5 separate regions of the Homo sapiens genome follow, and all the other regions are linked to region 5. The links are contacts of gene promoters, found by promoter capture Hi-C in blood cells and fetal thymus (Javierre and others, 2016). All regions are on one chromosome and are shown on one strand. The core of a region is centred on a gene start or on the middle of the fragment in contact, and the rest is flanking DNA. Distances in the headings are between cores, read along the strand shown.

Region 1 (3,919 bases), core at 1-2,500, 210 kb after region 5:
AGAGGGTGGAGCAGTCAGCTGGGCTTGCCCCCATCCCCTTCATGGCCCAGTAGGGTGGGCGTGGGGAGGGGGCAGTGAGGACAGATCACCAGGCTGCCTGGGTGGATGGAAGCTCTGGCCTCTGGAGATAAGGGCCTAGGGAGGGGAGAGTTGAGTCACATGGATTTACCTTCACTGGCTCTCTGGCTATGACCCCACCCTGGGTCTGGGGAACTCAGTCTAGATGCCAGGCCTGGACTGGGGAGGCTGGTTTCATTAAGCTGGAAGGTATCTGTGATTTTCTAACATCTATCTAAATCCCCCCTGCCGCCGCCACCCCCACACTCTCATTCTCTCTGTCTTAGGGCAGGGGGCGGAGCTGAGCCTGGGAAGACAGGGAGGGGTCTTAGGCCTGAGGACTCAAGGGTAAGATGAGGGGTCTCCACGTCAGGGGAGAATGGGTCAGGAGCCAGCTGCCTCATCCTGATCTTTTCTTTCTATGCCTATTAGAAAAAATGGCATGATTTCATTTGGTTAGAGTTTTGAACTCAATATAACTGGCTTAGGTTCGACGATGGGTCAGAGTAGGAAGTCAAGTAAATAGTAGGACTTCTGGGTTTGAGTTACCTGCCTGGCCCCAGCCACTCCTGCTTATTCTCATTTCTCTTCCCCATACCATAGTCCTCTCTCCAGTTATTTGCACAGGGATCGCCTGAGTGTTATGAGCACTACAACTCCCAGAGTGCCATGCTCCTGCCTCTGAAGCAGGGAAGGCTGGGAAAGCTATGCCCTACGGCAAGCTTTTCCACTGGCAAAGGAGGGGGGAGTGGGTGGGGGCCTCTTAGCCTGCCTGGGCAGCCAGGGTGCTGCCTGGTTGCCTGCAACTGGCCGGCTGCATTGATGCTCAGAGTGGATGGGGTGGGCAGGAGGAGAAAAGGGACAGCCAGCCTGAGTGCCTGGGTTCTCAAAGTGCTTGGGGACAGAGCAGAGTGGGGCCCTGGGGAGGATCCCAGGATAGCGGAGAAGTGTGGCCTCAACAGATGCAGCACTGCCCCACCCATTTTACTGGGGGGTCCCTGGGGGACCCTTCTGCTGACAACACTGAAGCTCTGCCTCGGGGGCGGGCTGTGGAGCAGGGGAGGAGGTCCTCAGGGAAGAAAAAGGAAAACCAAAGAGAACAACAAAACTAGAAACAGTGACTGCAACTTCGGGAGCAGCATCCCTTAGCCCCCAGGGGGACTCAGAGGGTTTCTCCTGCCTCTTCCTAACACTTCAACCACAGGGCAAGAGGCAGAAGCCCTCAGATGGAGGGGAGGATGGAGTTGTTTATGTGTTTCACTTGGTCCCAGGGAGTCTCTGCAAAGCCTGGATTAGGAAGACTAAAGGAGTGTGTGCTGGTGTGTTATGCCTCTTCCTTTTCCAGTCCAAGCTGCCTTTAAAAACACACTAATTTAGTAATTGTATTGGGTACCATTTGTCCAGTGCCCTCAGTTTCAAGAATAATATATTACATGATTTCATTTAATCCTCGACGATCCTGAATTGAGTGTCACTGACATTTTAGGGTGGGGGCACAGGGCCTCAGAGGTTAAGTAACTTTCCCAAGGTCACACTGCTAATAAAATGAGGGACCTAGGACTCAAACCTAGCTCACCTTCTTTCTAAAGCTAGAATGATTTTCAGGGCACCACGGTGCTTTTCTGATGTTCCTAGAACAGGACTCGGCAGACCATGGAAGCTTTATAAATGCTCATTAAATGTTCTCAGGCCAGAGAACCTGTGGGTGCTGTGGAAATGTGTGTGTCCAGGTATGTAAATGTGTGTTGATGTGTGGACCTGTGTCCAGGAGGAGCTAGGTGACTGCATGGCAGTCCACGGAAATGAAGGGAGTTGTTGGCTTCGAAGTGGGGGTGTGAACATGGGTGTGTCTGGGAGCCCGGGTATGTAAACATAAGATGCACAGAACCCTGGGGCACTATGGGAGGTTAAAGGTAGGTATAGGTATCTTGGGTTGGGGGGACTCTAACTAGTCCCCCTTTCTCAATTCTCAACTCCAATGTACTCCAGCAATCTCAACACTCTATTCCCACCCCTTGCCTGTTTCTCTCTCTGAATTCCAAGGCTCCATCAGATCAGAATGAAATGAGAACAAGCCCCAGAGTACCATTCCTATCAACTCCTGTCTTCTCCACACCAAAGAAAGGTAGAGCATTTTGGAAGCTTCTACATGAAGTGGCCCCAGCAGGGTGGACAGGATCTAGCTAGATGGTTAGTAACTGAAATCACCATGCTCCTCTGCTGTCCGCCTCCTTGGGGTCACAAAGTACTCTCCCCTCCACAACAGCATTAATCTTCCCACCTGCATGGGAGGAAGGCAGGGCACACTCAGATCACTATCCCCATTTTACAGGGAGGAAGCAGGAACCCAGTAGGGGAAGCAACTTGCACAGTGACAGGACAGGTAAGGGGTGGAGCCTGGGCTGGCAGCTCTGCCAGTTGACAGGGCTGCTCCAAGCTTTTAATTGTGGGGGTGGGGTTGCTGGGTTGAGTTTCATCAAGGGCAGCTGCTCTCAAAGCCAGCACTGGGCTGAGCAACTGAGAAGAGGGAAGACATTGAGGCAGAATACCTTGGGGATGGGAGGTGGCAGTTCTTCCACTCCACGAGGTGCCTGCACCAGCTATATCCCAGTTTCTCTAGTCTGATATTGAGGTTTTGGTTGAGGTGTGTCCAGAGAGTGATGGAGCATTTTACTTCTAGCTAACTTTTTAATTTTACCATTAAGGAGTGTGTGCATGGTGGGGGTTGGAGAGCTATAACTTATAAGCTTTTTTTTGGGGGGGTTGTTGTGTATTTTTTTGAGACGGAGTCTCGCTCTGTCACCAGAGTGGAGTGCAGTGGCGCGATCTTGGCTCACTGCAACCTCTGCCTCCTGGGTTCAAGGGATTCTCCTGCCTCAGCCTCCTGAGTAGCTGGGACTACAGACACATGCCACCACGCCCAGCTAATTTTTGTATTTTCAGTAGAGACAGGGTTTCACCATGTTGGCCAGGATGGTCTCGATCTCTTGACCTCATGATCTGCCCACCTCGGCCTCCCAAAGTGCTGGGATTACAGGAGTGATATAAGCTTTTTCAGTGGAGTTACTGGGCAAGATTTAAGTTAGGGCTTTGGATCAAAGCAAGGCCATGTGGTCTGAGGGGAGGAGGGGAAGATGGAAGCGAGCTCTGTTACTACGAAACCTGAGTCTCAGTCTTCCAATCTGTAACAAAGAGATACAAATATCCTTACTCTACCCCTACCCACTTCAGAGAGAAAGGCAAGAATATATCCACAAGTGAGCATAAAAGTAGTAGTAGGTGCCAGGCACGGTGGCTCACACCTGTAATCCCAGCATTTTGGGAGGCCGAGCTGGGCAGATCACAGGGTCAGGAGTTCGAGACCAGCCTGGCCAACACAGTGAAACCCCGTCTCTACTAAAAAAATACAAAAATTAGCTGGGTGTGGTGGCATGCGTCTGTAGTCCCAGCTACTCGGGAGGCTGAGGCAGGAGAATCACTTGAACCCAGGAGGCAGAGGTTGCAGTGACCTTAGATCATGCCACTGCACTCCAGCCTGGGCGACAGAGTGAGACTCCATCTCAAAAAAAAAAGTAGTAGTAGGCAGGGTGGGGTGGCTCACCCCTGTAATCTCAGCACTTTTGAAGGCCAAGTGGGGAAGATACCTTGAGCCTAGGAGTTGGAGGCTGCAGTCAGCCATGATCATGCCACTGCACTCCAGCCTGGGCAAGAGAGCAAAACCTTGTCTCGAGGGGAAAAAAAAAAAAAAGCCAGGCATGGTGGCTCACACCTGTAATCCCAGCACTTTGGGAGGCTGTGGTGGGAGAATCACGTCAGCCCAGGAGTTCGAGACCAGCTTGGGCAACATAGCAAAACCCCGTCT
Region 2 (3,596 bases), core at 1,097-3,596, 190 kb after region 5:
TTAAAACCCGTATCATTTTTCTCTAACCCTGTCCCTAAACAGATACGTATAAATTAAGGGACAAGTTCTATTTCCCCAGAGGCTGAGGGATAGGGAGTTTCTAATGAGGACAAGGAAGTTAGTTTGGGAACTTGGAGCCTTCAATAACCAGGGAGGGTTGGTTAAGGAGTTAGGATGTTATTAGGGAGGAAAGTAGAGGCTACCAGTGGGGGTGATGGTTAAAGAGAAACTTTGCTAAACTTCAAAAAGGAAGAGAGACCTGGCCAAGTCACATAGCTCAGATACAGCAGACTATCTCCATGAGTGGCAAGGACCCATCCCACCCTGGAATCCAAGTCTTTCCTGAGTTTACAGGGTGGTGTAAAAGTGTGCACATGGATGCCTGTGTGGGAGTGTGTGTGTGAACATGTCAGCACGTATGTGATCTGTGTCCAAGCACATCCCGCTGAGGGAAGGCACAGGTGTGGGTAAGTATGGCCATGTTGGTGTGACTTTGCCCTGGGGCCCACATGCCAGCTGGGTCTGGCCTGAGCTGATGGCTCTCCCCCTCCTCCCCACAGGCCAGGCCCCAGACTGAGCCAGGGACCGGGCGGGAGCCCCGAGGGGCCGGTCTCCCAGCCGGGCCCTGTCCACTCGGGGTGGCCTGCATTCCTAGAGTGGAGAGGGTGAAGTCCTGGGTCCCCCCGAGCAGGGCCCAGGTCCCGGCGCGGCGGTGCCTACCGAAGGGCACGATGATGGGGCAGGTGATACTGTAGGTCATGACCACCGTGAAGACGCACATCATCCAGGCGTAGGCTGCGCCAAACTGGAACTCGTAGGCCTGATGCTGGGGGGGAGACGGGCAGGAGGATGGCTCAGGGAGGCAGGGACTGACCAGAGGGGCAGGGAAGGAGGGAGGGGGAAGGGAGCCAGGACCTCTGGGGCCGGAAAAGAAGCCATGGGGAACAGGACCTAATGTCTAGGGTAGGGTAGGGCAGAGCAGATGGAGAGAGGGGCTATGGCCGAGAGGAGGGTCAGGGCGGTTGCAGTGATGGGGCACGGAGAGGGGCCTTCAAGGGTCGGGGCCTGGCAGGTAGGGGGCAAGAGTTGGGTGGACTTGAGAGTGGGATGCCCAGAGCCCTCTTATTAAGACAGAGGGACCCTAGCGCTAGGGACCCAGATCTCCCCAACTCCCATCATAGAATGCTACTGTCAGAACTGGCAGGGGCCTTCAGGGTTACCTATGTCCACCCATGGCAGAATACGAAGGCCCCAGATATGGGAAGGGGATGGCCCGGATCCACCGTGAGTCAACTGTACTCCCCAAGTCTCAGCCCTCCTGTGCCCCTCAACCCTAGCGCGATGGCTGCTGTTTCTTGTTGGGCCACCAGGGGGCGCTGTGCGGGCCGCTGCTGCCCCAGGCGGCCGTACCCGCTTCACGTTGCGCCTCTCGGCGGCCGAGCGCGCCAGGCAGAGCCGGATCATGTACATGAGCAGGCCTGGGATGCGCAGCAGGTCCATGGCGTTGCCGATAAAGGCTGAGGCAATGACGTAGTTCACGAAGAAGGCGCCGTTGTCGGGCAGGAACACACACCTGCGGGCACCAGGTGCTCCAGCACTGCACCCTTGGGGTGACCCGGTGGCCGCCCGCCCACTGCCAGAACTACAGCACCCAACACCTCCACCACCAACATGCTTCTTCCATGTGGACACCCCCAGCTTAGCGCCCCAAGCACCTGTGCCCTGTTCCCCCCAGAGACATACAGAGTGGCAACAGACAGCTCCAAGAACTTGTGCCCCATAAAGACCCATGGAGAGAGTGCTCAAGACCACCTAAGGCTGCTAGAATGTTCAGGGGAGAACTGTCCAGGACCCCCAAAGACAACCCAATGAGACCCTCAAAGAACCCAAAGGCTGACAGCCCCAGGAACACCCAGAAGATTCCCCCACTTAGACCATAACTCGAGTTACCCCCAGAGTGTGACATGAGCCTCAGATACCTCCACAAACAAGCTTTGAGACCCTTCCCGCAACATCTCTGGGGGAGCCCAGGAACCTTTATCAGTGCCTGAGATGCCCCAAGTGTGACTCAAAGATCACCACAGATGGCCTACAGCAAAACCCCTAGAGTTTGTGCCCACAGCCATGGTGCATGACCTTCAATATATCCTCACATGATTCCCAGAGAAGATGCCCATACAGAACTCCACAGTTACATCTCTGAATAAAAGCCTGAAATTTTAGAGATGTTCCCAGAACTTGTACTGCTAAACATCCCAAAGTGTGAGTCCTTTAGCCTCCCCGCCCACAGACACCCCCAGAGTTATAAGGTCAAGAGCCTCCTACACATACCCAAAAATATGGGCTCTAGAGACCTTCAGGGATACCCCTAGTAGCCTCCAAGACACTCCCTAAGTATCACCAAGACCTCCCTAGAGATGGTTCCCCAAACCTCCCAAGTGGAACTCCAGAGACGCCCACAGTTAGTCCCAGAATATGGGCACAAGACACCCCCATAGAAACTACCAGAATGTGGAGCCCCAAGCCCCAAATATACCTTGAGGATGATCTTAGCATCCAAACAGGTTACCAGAGAGTGAACACCAACACAGACCCCAGGGACTTCTACCATGTATACACACCCAAGACACCTTGTGGGTGCCTTTGGGGTAACCCCGCCAGATCCTCTCTCTTCTGCCCCCTCCAGGAGTTGGAAGCTTTGTTGCACCCTCCCATGGGGCTGGCAATGTCTCTCAAGCATACCCACCCCTGCTGTCTGGTCTCTTTCCCTAGGGGCCCCAGTCACTCACTCAAACCGAATAGCTGCCTCAGCCAAGAATTTCTTATCAAAGAGCCAGCGGAAGAAGAGGTCCAGGCTGGAGGGAAGCAGAGGAGAGATGGGGTGGGAGCTGGAGTGGTACAGAACACCAGGGGAGGGGAAGTCCCTCCTCTGTGAGCCACTGGGGAGACTCCCAGACATGGGGTGGGTAGCTCAGGAGGCCTGGGGGTGGCCAGGCTTCCCATCTTGGGCCCCTTGCTTTGTAGGGGAGGTAGGGAGGCTGAACTGCTCTCCTCTCCCTATCCTGCTGTCCCCCTACCCTGGCTCCTGCCCCATCCTTCTCAACTCACCTGCTCAGTCCCAGCGAGGGTAGGAGCAGCACCATGAAGATGAGGAAAGTGTAGCACTTGTGCATGGTTGTCCTGTTCTCCCCAGAGCTGGAGGGAGGGGAGCAGGGAACGGTACAGGTCAAGTGAGCCCAGGCCCCAGACTTGCTCCCCCAACAAGGACAATGTCCAAGGAGTGTCCCCTGGGAAGGGTGGGCCTCCCAAGGTGAGGGTGCTGGGCACTACCCCTTCCCTACCAGCTGTGGGACTGCCCAGGGCCAGGAGCCTGAAGGGCAAAGTGCTGCCCAGAGAGGATGGGTCATTGAGGGCAGGCCACAGCGAGGTGTGGTGTGAGTGGAGGCACCTTACCGTGTCCAGTGGGCTTCAAAGAAGGCTGAGTAGTAGACGATGGTGGGAAGGAGGGCCGAGAAGCACCACAGCAGCAGGGTGGGGAAGAACTGGGTGATGATGGGGTTCTGCAGCAGGGCACAGGGGGGCGTCAGGCAGGGCAG
Region 3 (3,904 bases), core at 895-3,394, 230 kb after region 5:
CTGTGAAATGAGCTTTGGTATAGCAGAGCAAGGCTGCAGAGTGCGGTTGGAACACTCTTGGACTGAACCTGGATCCAGTTCTGTTTCTGCCCTTGACTAATTGTGGGACTCTACACAAGTCACTTAATCTGCCTGTATATCAATTTTCTAATCTTTAAAATGATATATGACATCATGATGATGATAGCTAATAGGTAATGAGTGCCAGGCACTGTGCTAAGTGCTTTGCATGGCTTATCTAATTGAATCCTCATAACTACCTTGGGGGCAGATACTATTAGTATCCCTGTGTTACAGATGGTAAACCAAAGCTCAACAGTTTGGTTACTTGTCCAGGGTCATCTCACCAGTAAAAGTAAAGCTAGTCTCATTTGGTAGTCTGTGATTCTCTGTGTGTCAGATGTTAGTAGTTGCATACATTAGCTGCCTTCTTTTGCATTTGATTTTTCTGATCATAATTACATTTTGGCTGATGCTTCATGGGTTGTCTTAAGGAAAACATTTGGGAGTAAGTTTGGGATTTGAGGCTAAATTGTAGTTAATAAGCATTTAAAGGCCAGGTGTGGTGGGTGGCTCACACCCATAATCCCAGCACTTTGCGGGGCTGAGGCGGGAGGATTGCATGAACTCAGGAGTTCAAGGCCAGCCTGGGCAACATAGTGAGACCATCATCTCTACAAAAAAAAAAAAAAAAAAAAAAAAAACACAAAAAATTAGCCAGGCGTCCTGGTGCATGTCTGTGGTCCTGACTACTTGGGAGGCTGAGGTGGGAGGATCACCTGAGCTTGGGGAGTTCGGGACTGCAGTGAGCTGCAGTTGCACCACTACATTCCAGCATGGGTGACAGAGCAAGACTTGTCTCAAGGAAAGAAAAAAAAGTATGGAGTGTCTAGGTATTCCTGGGGAGGAGTGGATTCCCCTGCCCCACCCTAACATTCTTATTAAATAAAATCTTATCTGAGGTGGTTTGAACTTGTGCATAGCAAAGCTGTGTGTAAATACTACAGTGTAGAGGCTTTTCTCGGCAGACCTCTTGAATGGGCACCTCTGCTGCCAAACGTTTGGGTGGAAAAACAGGTGTGTTTTGCAGCTGGCTACAGGCCTTTCTGAAGCATGCTCTGAAGTGATGTTCAGGTGTTTCAGGGCACTGGCAGCCTCCATATTTGTTAGTGCTAGGGAGCAACAGGGTTGAGATTCTGAAAACTGGAGTCACAAGTCTTGGGTTGGTGTTTGCTCTTTTAGCTAACTCTTCAAGTTGGTTTCCCAAAGCCCACTTTCAGCTGTAGTATGGTGTAGGTCAGTTTTCCATGTTACAGTGTTTGGGAGACTGACCCAAATAAAGACTTTGGTCTTTGACTTGGCAAGAGCAGCCTTTGGCTTTGCTTTGCTGGCCTTGAGCTGTACAGGTGTTCTGGCCTTTACATTTGGGGGAAAGGTGATGTAGTGATAGACAACTTGGGTGGCTGCTTAGATAATTTACTTTCTTTTAGGGAGTTAAAGTGCTGGTTTCAGAAGGCATATGAATATCAAAAAGGGCAATAGTGTGCAGTTTTTCCTCTATGGAGGACTCGAGAAGAAGTCCCTGGCTGGGTTTATAACCAAGGGCTCATATTTTCCTCCTGCCTGTGGAAGTGATATAATAAGGAAGGCATTCTCCGTGCTGTTGTATTTTTTTATAGCAGAAGCTGTTGTGGGCCATTCTCCCTCTCCAACCCCAGAGTTAGAATGTGAATCAGCAAAATCGGAGCTACAGCTCTGTCTAATCATCTGTGTATCCTTTAACCACTAAGATTTATATTTTGTGACTAATGATCTTGTGCTGGAAGTGCCATCTCCCACACAAGTCCCCAAAGAAAACTGGCTTTAAGGGCTCTGACTTAGAAACCAATTTTTCCCCCTCTCGTTTTTCCTGCAGGATCTATCTTGGGATCCCATGGCTTTCTTTACTGGGCTCTGGGGCCCCTTCACCTGTGTAAGCAGAGTGCTGAGCCATCACTGTTTCAGGTAACTTTTCCCATTAAGTTCTTAAAACTGTGTCTTTGTGTAAGCTTCCTATCAGGGCTGGGTATTACGGTGACTAGAACAGGAGTAAAAACTCAGGGAGGTGGGCATGGGGTTGGGGAAAGCTAAAGTGATCAGGCTGAGCTGGCCTGGTTGGTCTGGTCACAGGATGGGGGATAGGTAAAGAGGTGATGTTGCTGTTAGAAGTGTGATGGGGAATGGCATATGGCGGAAGCTTTTACTCTTCAGTCCTTGCAAGACTCTTACAGTGAATCTGACATCTCTCAACCCTATCATTCCCCTAGAGCATTAAAATCCTTTTAAAAACGGAATTTTTTTAATTACAAAAATAATACATGCTTATTACCAAGAACTTGAGCATGATAGAAGTGTGACACCCTCCCCTCCTTGTAGATGCTAAGCCAGGAGAGCACAGGAGGCACGCTTGTTGGCAGACATGCCTCCTGGCCCCGTCATGCCCTCATCCCACAGGCATTTCCTGAGCACCGCACCTGGGGTTGGCCATACAGAGATGAAAGAGAGTTGCTTTCTGTCCTGAAAGAATTCTCACTGTCAGCCACAGGAGCAAACTTGAAAATAAGTAACTCTAAGAAAATGTGATAGAATATTATAATAGAGGATTGTACAGTGCTTTGGAAGGCGTCATATAGGAGCTGCTAGTGGAGGAAGAGGAGGAGAAAGAGTGGAGGCAGTCTTCTCAAAAGGGAGATGGGGGCAGATCCTGTCTAGGCCTCCAGGGAGAATTGGGAGGCAGGGTGTGCTTGGGGAAGTGGTTCCTGGTTCTCCTGCCCAGAGTGGTAGGATGTGTAGCCTTAGAAGGTAGGTAAATTGGGACAAGGTTGTTGACAGTGTAGATGGTGGGGAGTAGCATCACTTTTATATTCTAAAGAGAGCTCTTTGTTGGCAAAGTGAAGTGCAATGGGAACCAACTAGGACACTAATGTCACAGTCTTGGTGTAGGAGAGTGAGCTGCTAAATGAAGGAAGTTGTTGGCGGGATTGGAGAGAAAGGACATAGGTGCTTAGGGGGTGATATTAACAGGACTTGGTGGCCAGTTCATGTTGGTGGAGAGAGGTTTATGGCTTGGCTTCTGGTACTGCTGGAGAAGCCATCGTCTAGATAAGTGTAGCAGCAGGCGGAGGTTTGCAAGGGGAGGCAGTGAGATGAGTTTGGGACCTACTGAGTTTGCAGTATCTATAGAGCATGTTGTAGGGAGTTGAGGAGAGTGGAAATATATAGAACTAGAATATAGAAGAGAGGCGGGGCTGGAGATGGAATTTACTAGTTGGCAGCAATGCTAATGGGTAAGATTGCCCAGAGTAGGCATAAAAAACGAGAGAAGAGGTCCTAGGATTACCCTGCGGAAACACCAGCATCAGGTGCTAGCATCAGGAAAATAGGAATCCCACTGTAATCAGCTTGCTTAATAATACCTTGTCTGCCTTCAATAAGTACTCTCTAAAATTTTTTTTTCTAATGAGAAAAAATGTATTAAAACAGAAGATTGTTACCTTGACTTATTACCAGTTTCTGGTATGTTGTGTCAGAGAATTCCCTTAGTAAACTTACCCATATCTTCTAGTTCCCAGCAACATGTAAATAAGAAAATTAGGGGACCGGGCGCGGTGGCTCACGCCTGTAATCTCAGCCCTTTGGGAGGCCGAGGCGGGCGGATCATGAGGTCAGGAGATCGAGACCATCCTGGCTAACACGGTGAAACCCTGTCTCTACTAAAAAATACAAAAAATTAGCTGGGCATGGCAGCAGGCGCATGTATTCCTAGCTACTTGGGAGGCTGAGGCAGGAGAATGGTGTGAACCCGGGAGGTGGAGCTTGCAGTGAGCTGAGATGGCGCCACCGCACTCTAGCCTGGGCGACAGAG
Region 4 (3,891 bases), core at 635-3,134, 160 kb after region 5:
GGTTCAAGCAGTTCTCCTGCCTCAGCCTCCCAAGTAGCTGGGATTATAGGCGCGTGCCACTACGGCCAGCTAAGTTTTGTATTTTTAGCAGAGACGGAGTTTTGCCATGTTGGCCAGGGTGGTCTCAAACTCCTGACCTCAGGTGATCCACCTGCGTTGGCCTCCCAGAGTGCTGGGATTACAGGCGTGAGCCACCGCGCCCGGCAGTTCGTTCATTTATGTGACCTGCTGGCTGCAGGTGTCAGATTTTTAACCTTCGAGGCTCCTGCAGTGCCACCTTTGGGGACCCCAGTTTGAAGCAGCAGATGAGAGTCCTGGAGCCCTGGCTCAGCCCCCGTAGAAGCGCTCCACCATAGGGCACACCACACAGTTCTTCACAGGGAGGGACTTGTGTGCTTAGCATCTGGCACTGCCCATAAACGCCAACTATGGCCTCTAGTTATTGTGACAACTGCACATTTCTATATGCTCCCTATCACCCTTGGCTGAGAGCTACCCAATCCTTTGGTCCTGGGTAAGTGACTTCCACCCTTGCCAGTCTTTTCTTGGCATAAAAACACAGAGACATGGAAGCCAATGGCATGTGCTATTTATTAGAATAGTATCCACAGATGGGGAGGAAAACAGAGGCTGTGCCAGGATGGGTGGTCAGCAGGTAGGTGTGAGCAGGACAGCAAGCATGGAGGGTAAGAAACGGGCTACAAGTCCCTTCCCTATTCTTGGCCTCCCCAGCCAGGGGGACCCTGGGGAAGCATCAACTACTCTTTAGTAAAATATACTCTGAGAGAGCGATGGTGGGGGAAAGCCAGCCATCAGAAGCCGGGTTGGGGAAAAAAGAGAAAGCCTCTGAGCTGGGGGAGTGGGCACGGAGGTCCCACTGCTGCAGTAAACACGGCACCTGGGACCCGGGCACTGCCACCTGGAGCCCATTTCATCAGCAGAGACCGGAGAGCTGAGGGCTACAAGAAGCACCCCACCCTCCTGGGCTAGAACCTCGCTGCTGCTGCTGCTGGTAGAGATGACCAGGCTCCTACAGCGCCTCTATCCCCACATGGTCATCTGCAGCCACTGTGGAGACAGGAAGCAGATCCCAGGGTGGGAAGAGACGGGGGCAGGATGCTGGCCCGGGGACATCAGAGCTGGGTGGGGGTGGGGTTGAGGGGCAGGCAGGTGCAATCCTGCAGATTCCTTCCCACCCTTCTCCAAGTACCTGTTCCAGGCTCAAGCAAATATGGCCAGTATTCTTGGGGTCCATGGTTAGAAAGAATGCTGCGTTACAGAGGAAGCGGGGGAGAGGGGCTGAATGCTAAGTCAGTGTTCCGAAAGAACCACTCCCAACTAGGTAGGAAGGGGCGACACCAGGTGTTCCTGGCTGTTCCCCACATAAATCCCCTAGCCAAGTGGGGAATTAATGATAGCAACTCACATAGCCTCACCAGGAGCCAGGCCCAGTTCTGATTGCCTTCCATAGACTAACTGGTTTAACCTGCACCTCAGTCCTTTGAGGGCAGTACTATTATTATCCACATTCTAAAGAGGAGGGAATGGAGGCACAGAAAGATTAAGTGACTTGCTCAAGTCACCTCTGCCAGCAAGTGGCGGAGCTGGGCTTTGAATCCATTTCATGTGTGCCTTGTAAGGGGGAGGGGATCTGGAGCAGCACCCATCAGGGTGGGTGTTTGGGAAAGGGCCCGCGGCCCCTGGCCTAGGCTGGGGAGTGGGTAGATGCCTAACTCACTGAACATGGTCTTTAGCCTCAGGAAACAGCTGATGAAGCTGTCAAAGTCTATGATCAGGTCATCATCTGCATACCTGGCCACCAGGACCTGCATTACCTTGTTGTTCAGCTTGATGCCTGAGAGAGGGAGAGAGAAGTGGGGAGGGGAAAAGTCTGGGCCTCTGGACACTGCCATCCTCTTCCCTGCCCCAAGGCCCACTCCTGACCCTTGGCCACCTGCTTTCTCAATAACCAGGCGCATCTCATAGGAGTTCAAGGTGCCTGAATGGTCCTGGTCACACTCTCTGAAGATGTCCTGAAGAGACAGACAGATATGGTAGGGCCACATGCATGGCATGGTGGTTGAAATAATGAAATACTGAGGCCGGGCGCGGTGGCTCATGCCTGTAATCCCAGCACTTTGAAAGGCCGAGGCAGGCGGATCATCTGAGGTCAGGAGTTTGAGACCAGCCTGGCCAACATGACGAAACCCCGTCTCTAATAAAACTACAAAAATTAGCTGGGTGTGGTGGTGCATGCCTGTAATCCCAGCTAGTCAGGAGGCTGAGGCAGGAGGCGGAGGTTACAGTAAGCAGAGATCGCACCACTGCACTCCAGCCTGGGCAACAGAGTGAGATTCCGTCTCAAAAAAAAGAAAAAGAAATACTTTAGGACAGTTGGCTCACAGCAGTGGCCTAAGACCCCATGCCCCCCTCCAACCCTGGCCCACTCCTGATATTCCTATCATCTGGTGACCTAAGGGTTAATTCCAAGCATGGGTTGTCGGGGGCACTGGTGCCCTGCCCAGCGCTCTTTGTGTGCATCCTTCATGACTAGATGATACCTGAGCTATACTTGTTATAAAATATTTTGACTGGGTAATATGCCACACTCCAACAGACCCTTTTCATGTGTGTGTGTGGTGTGGTTGTGTCTGTATGTGAGTGTGTGTGTGTGTGTGTGTGTGTGTGGTGTGGTTGTGTCTGTATGTGTGTGTGTGTGTGGTGTGGTTGTGTCTGTATGTGAGTGTGTATGTGTGTGTGTGAGTGTGGTGTGGTTGTGTCTGTATGTGAGTGTGTATGTGTGTGTGAGTGTGGTGTGGTTGTGTCTGTATGTGAGTGTGTATGTGTGTGTGTGTGTGGTGTGGTTGTGTCTGTATGTGAGTGTGTATGTGTGTGTGTGTGTGGTGTGGTTGTGTCTGTATGTGTGTGTGTGGTGTGGTTGTGTCTGTATGTGAGTGTGTATGTGTGTGTGTGAGTGTGGTGTGGTTGTGTCTGTATGTGAGTGTGTATGTGTGTGTGTGAGTGTGGTGTGGTTGTGTCTGTATGTGAGTGTGTATGTGTGTGTGAGTGTGGTGTGGTTGTGTCTGTATGTGAGTGTGTATGTGTGTGTGTGGTGTGGTTGTGTCTGTATGTGAGTGTGTGTGTGTGTGGTGTGGTTGTGTCTGTATGTGAGTGTGTATGTGTGTGTGTGGTGTGGTTGTGTCTGTATGTGAGTGTGTATGTGTGTGTGTGAGTGTGGTGTGGTTGTGTCTGTGAGTGTGTGTGTGTGTGAGTGTGGTGTGGTTGTGTCTGTATGTGAGTATGTGTGTGTGAGTGTGGTGTGGTTGTGTCTGTATGTGAGTGTGTATGTGTGTGTGTGAGTGTGGTGTGGTTGTGTCTGTATGTGAGTGTGTATGTGTGGTGTGGTTGTGTCTGTATGTGAGTGTGTGTGTGTGTGAGTGTGGTGTGGTTGTGTCTGTATGTGAGTGTGTGTGTGTGTGTGTGGTGTGGTTGTGTCTGTATGTGAGTGTGTGTGTGTGTGTGTGAGTGTGGTGTGGTTGGGTGTGTGTGTGTGTGTGGTTAGGGCTTGGGTTCTAGCTTCCCCTCATTAGTTCCATCTCTCCTAAGACCCTCTTTTCCTCACCCCTGGAGGCTGCCCCTTTAGTGCCCTTTACCATCCATTTCTTGAGTTTTTTCCACAGGATCTTGAACTCTAGAAGCCCCAGCTTGCCAGAGCCATCTTTCTGGAAGGTGGTCAAGGACAGCAGAGAAGGAGTGAAGAAGGCATCCCAGGGGATAGGGAAGCAGCGGGGGTTCCTGAGGGGACACACAAGCCCTGGGGTTCCGGTACTGTAGCAGCCAGAAGAACTGGCATCTTCTGCTACCCCAGAGCCTAATCCCCATCAGGGAGGA
Region 5 (3,441 bases), core at 253-2,752:
TGCAGGAAGGTCTGGAGCTTAAAGTTAGAATCCCAGAACCCTTTTCTCCTTGCTGTTGCAGACACACTTGGACAATTAATAGCTCTAACTCCTCCAGCTCCTCCTTCTCTACGGTCCTAGCTTATATTAATAGCTGGGTGGAATGAGTTGTACCTCCCTCCTTTCTCCCCACTGTGAAGGAGAATGAGGAGATCACACACCCAGAATACAGAAGACCAGGGAGAAAGCTAAGATCTGATCCCGCAAAGTCTGGATATTTCACAACCCCTTTTTGCAGCACTCAGGCCACTCACCCATAACAGGTAAATGAGAACTTGAGCGCAGGCGCACTCTGAGCTTTTCTGGGAGACTGTGGCTGTTCAGCGCCATGACACTGTTCTCCAAAGGCAAACGTGCCCCCAAATACCCTCCTCGGCCTTAACCAATTATGGAGCTACCAGCCATTATTTAATTTTTAGAGTGTTCATAATTCTCACCTGAACTGTCCCATCCAATAAACAATGACACAAACCTACTAATATCTGAGCAAAGGAAAGATGAAAGGACACAGGCTCGAAAGTATGGCAGACTCATGTCAAATCCCAGGCTCATGTCAAATCCCAGGCTCACCTTTTATTAACCCAAGCACTGGGCAGGTCAAATCTCTGGCTCCCTTTACTCATAGGTAATATACTTCTCCACTGCTGTGAGATCCAGTGAGGTAATTTATGAGACTCTCTGCTTTGGTGGTGCTCTCTGCCTAATCAAATCTTGGGTTAGCACAAACATAAGCTACTATTCAAGCAGCTCTTTTTACATGCCCCCAAACTAGCTTCCTTCTAAACTTCAAATGGTGCCCCCCACCTGCCCCCGCCCCCGGGTGTAGTATACTTGGATGTGGCCACCAACTCCACAGCCTGGATTTCTTAGAACTCAACTGTAGGTCCTCTCCACCTCGGTCATGCCAGAGTCCCTTTTTTCTGGAACCTTCTCCAGCTGTCTGCCGCAGGTCGTGCTTGAGATGGAGGGGAGACGGCAGCCCCGTGGACTGTTTCCAGTGAGCATGGATGGACTCATCTGTGCCCATGATGATTTTAAATATTAGAAGCAACCCAGAGACAAAGAAAGTCCCTCGTAAGAAAGGTATCAGTCAAAACAAACAAATTCCACAAGCCACCGAAAGTCAGGAGGGCAGGACTGGCCTCTAAACGGGAGCCTTACTCCCTCCACCTGGGCGTTTCGTGGTTTGGAAGCCCTGGGAGCCCCAGCGAGTCCGCCCCCAGCCCGAACCAGGCTCGCTGCAGCCCCCATCCAGCTCAAGGTGCTCCTTCTTTTCCACCTCGGGGTCTTCCCACCCCCTTCCCCAGGGGAGGCCCGGGTCTGTGCTCAGAGGCCTCCACGGACCAACGAACCAACTGGCAACTGAACTGCCGAACGCACGCCGCACGCCGAGGCCTGAGAACCGAGAGCCTAGGGCAAAAGGGACACCGCAGCCGCCTGCTTCTCCCACAGAGGCGCGTTCCGGGGTTGCCGGGACACCGGCTCCAGTAACGCGGCGCGCAGCGTCCTGCCTGGCTCGGCTGCCGGCCCCCCTGTCTGTCACCCCCCGGCTCTCTGGCCATTGGTACAGGATGGAGGCTCCTGAGAGGTACGGAGCAAGGAGCTCCAGCCATGGCCCGGCGTCACAGGCAAGGACCGCTGCAAAAGCCACTTTGTGATTTTGGACTTTTTTTTTTTTTTTAAGAGTTGTGGTTCTTTTCCAGGCAATTTTCATTATTAGAACTGTAGGCTCTGGTAGCAGTGAAAGATGCGCCCTCCACAAAGCTTGCAGATGCCTGGTTATAATTGGCGTTGATTAGACAGGATCCACCTACCACTTACAGAGCGCCTTTTCTGGGCCAGGCGCCCTGGTGGATATTATCTTCCTTAAACAGCCAGCTGCGTTTTTCAAAATAGAAAACCAAATTTTAGCAAAGGCTTGCGCAAGGTCACCCAGAAAACAGATTCATTTCTAAGTTTCCTCATTCCAAATCCACCACTCTTTCCATCATATTGACTTAAATTTGTCTTCCTCATCCTTTCCAGTATCTAATAAATCTTGCATAGAAAGCTTTTCTCCAAGTCTAGTTTAAGTCCCTAAATTCGTGTTTAGACCAAGTTTTCCCTTCTTTTGTTACTGATTATAAGAGAAATAAATGGTCATTATAGAAATATTGGAAAATATGGAAAAGTATTATTAATATCCATGATCTCACCATACAGAAGTTAAATACTTTTTTCCTGGATAGCTATTGCTATATAACAAATCACCCTCAAACTCTGTTGTTTTAAACAACAACATTCATTTTTAATTTCTGATCCTGGTCGTTGGCTAGGCTAAGCTAGGCTGTTCATGCTTGGGGTCTCTCACAGGGTCTCAGTCAGAGGTCACAGAGGAGCTTCCTCACTCATGTGTCTGGTGATTGATGCTGGTTGTCAGTTGAGGTCAGCAGGGTTAGCGCCAGTTCACCCATGTGTGGCGTTTCCATGTGCTTTCTCACACCAGTGTCTGAGTTTCCAACGTGAGCATCCCAGGAGGACCAGGCAGAAGTTGTATTGCCTCCATAGTCACAAATGCATGGAGAGGGAACTTAGATCACACCTCTCCATCATGGTCATACTGTATGAAGAGCACAGGGGACAGGGGATCTTGTGGCCCTCCTAGAAAATACAATCTCCCCTACTGATATTTAGGGGTTATTCCTTGTCCTTTTTCTATGCACATGTATGTCATATACCCCTAGTGATTTACACCCCTGCTGATATTTAGGGGCTCCTTCCTCTCTACCCTTTTTCTGTGCACAAATATGTTAACATATTATAGATAGATAGATAGATAGATAGATAGATAGATAGATAGATAGATATAGATATAGATATCTCTTGTATTGGGCTTTTAAAATTTAAGATTATAGTTGATGGCTGGGGCTGTGGCTCACGCCCATAATCCCATAATCCCAGCACTTTGGGAGGCCGAGGTGGGTGGATCACTTGAGATCAGGAGTTCAAGACCAGCCTGGCCGTCATGATGAAACCCGTCTCTACTAAAAATACAAAAAAAAAAAAATTAGCCAGGCGTGGTGGCAGGCACCTGTAATCCCAGTTATTTGGGGTGCTGAAGGAGAACTGCTTGAACCCGGGGGGCAGAGGTTGCAGTGAACTGAGATCATGCCACTGCACTCCATCCTGGACAAGAGAGTGAGACTCCATCTCAAAAAAAAAAAAAAAAAGTTGGCCCTCCATATCTGAGGGTTTTGGATCCACAGATATGACCAACTACAGATTAAAAATATTCAAAAAATATATAAAAATTTAAAATAATACAGATAAAAACAGCAAAGTATAGCAACAATTTACATAGCATTTACATTGCTTTAGGTATTATAAATAATCTAGGGATGATTTGAAGTACCGTACAGGAGG

Evidence for each region. Contacts are between HindIII fragments. The CHiCAGO score rates a contact against its expected background, and 5 or more counts as called.
Region 1: a contact is called between a fragment that was not itself captured here and the fragment with the promoter of SPATS1 in region 5, in 1 of 17 cell types (naive B cells). The highest score is 5.7, in naive B cells.
Region 2: a fragment that was not itself captured here is called in contact with the fragment with the promoter of SPATS1 in region 5 in 2 of 17 cell types (naive B cells and total B cells); the score reaches 8.8 in naive B cells.
Region 3: a fragment that was not itself captured here is called in contact with the fragment with the promoter of SPATS1 in region 5 in 3 of 17 cell types (naive B cells, total B cells and monocytes); the score reaches 8.7 in naive B cells.
Region 4: a fragment that was not itself captured here is called in contact with the fragment with the promoter of SPATS1 in region 5 in 4 of 17 cell types (neutrophils, naive B cells, total B cells and 1 more); the score reaches 8.6 in neutrophils.

Annotation. Positions count from the first base shown.
Region 1 is chr6:44,130,636-44,134,554 of GRCh38, reverse strand. The region is part of intron 1 of TMEM63B (transmembrane protein 63B); the gene reads right to left. Among named protein-coding and RNA genes, the nearest start is that of TMEM63B, 5.0 kb to the right of the region's middle. RefSeq lists enhancers at 1-424, 833-1,002, 425-1,390 and a silencer at 3,235-3,394. The HindIII fragment of the contact is 938 bases long and covers 782-1,719 here.
Region 2 is chr6:44,149,823-44,153,418 of GRCh38, reverse strand. TMEM63B (transmembrane protein 63B) reads right to left here. Exons shown (of 24, transcript NM_018426.3): 16 at 3,454-3,560; 17 at 3,109-3,195; 18 at 2,790-2,855; 19 at 1,411-1,573; 20 at 721-826. Among named protein-coding and RNA genes, the nearest start is that of CAPN11, 7.2 kb to the left of the region's middle. RefSeq lists an enhancer at 1,396-1,565. The HindIII fragment of the contact is 704 bases long and covers 1,995-2,698 here.
Region 3 is chr6:44,114,641-44,118,544 of GRCh38, reverse strand. MRPL14 (mitochondrial ribosomal protein L14) reads left to right here. Exons shown (of 3, transcript NM_032111.4): 2 at 1,916-2,004. The coding sequence starts at 1,934. Among named protein-coding and RNA genes, the nearest start is that of MRPL14, 11 kb to the left of the region's middle. RefSeq lists an enhancer at 1,170-1,339. The HindIII fragment of the contact is 188 bases long and covers 2,051-2,238 here.
Region 4 is chr6:44,181,083-44,184,973 of GRCh38, reverse strand. It overlaps CAPN11 (calpain 11), which reads right to left. Exons shown (of 23, transcript NM_007058.4): 19 at 3,654-3,722; 20 at 1,955-2,033; 21 at 1,739-1,855; 22 at 1,211-1,269; 23 at 573-1,068. The coding sequence ends at 1,042. Among named protein-coding and RNA genes, the nearest start is that of CAPN11, 24 kb to the right of the region's middle. The HindIII fragment of the contact is 4,304 bases long and covers 1-3,891 here.
Region 5 is chr6:44,340,711-44,344,151 of GRCh38, reverse strand. SPATS1 (spermatogenesis associated serine rich 1) reads right to left here and starts at 1,502. Exons shown (of 9, transcript NM_001372081.1): 1 at 1,384-1,502; 2 at 918-1,056. The coding sequence starts at 1,056. The HindIII fragment of the contact is 2,984 bases long and covers 1-1,805 here.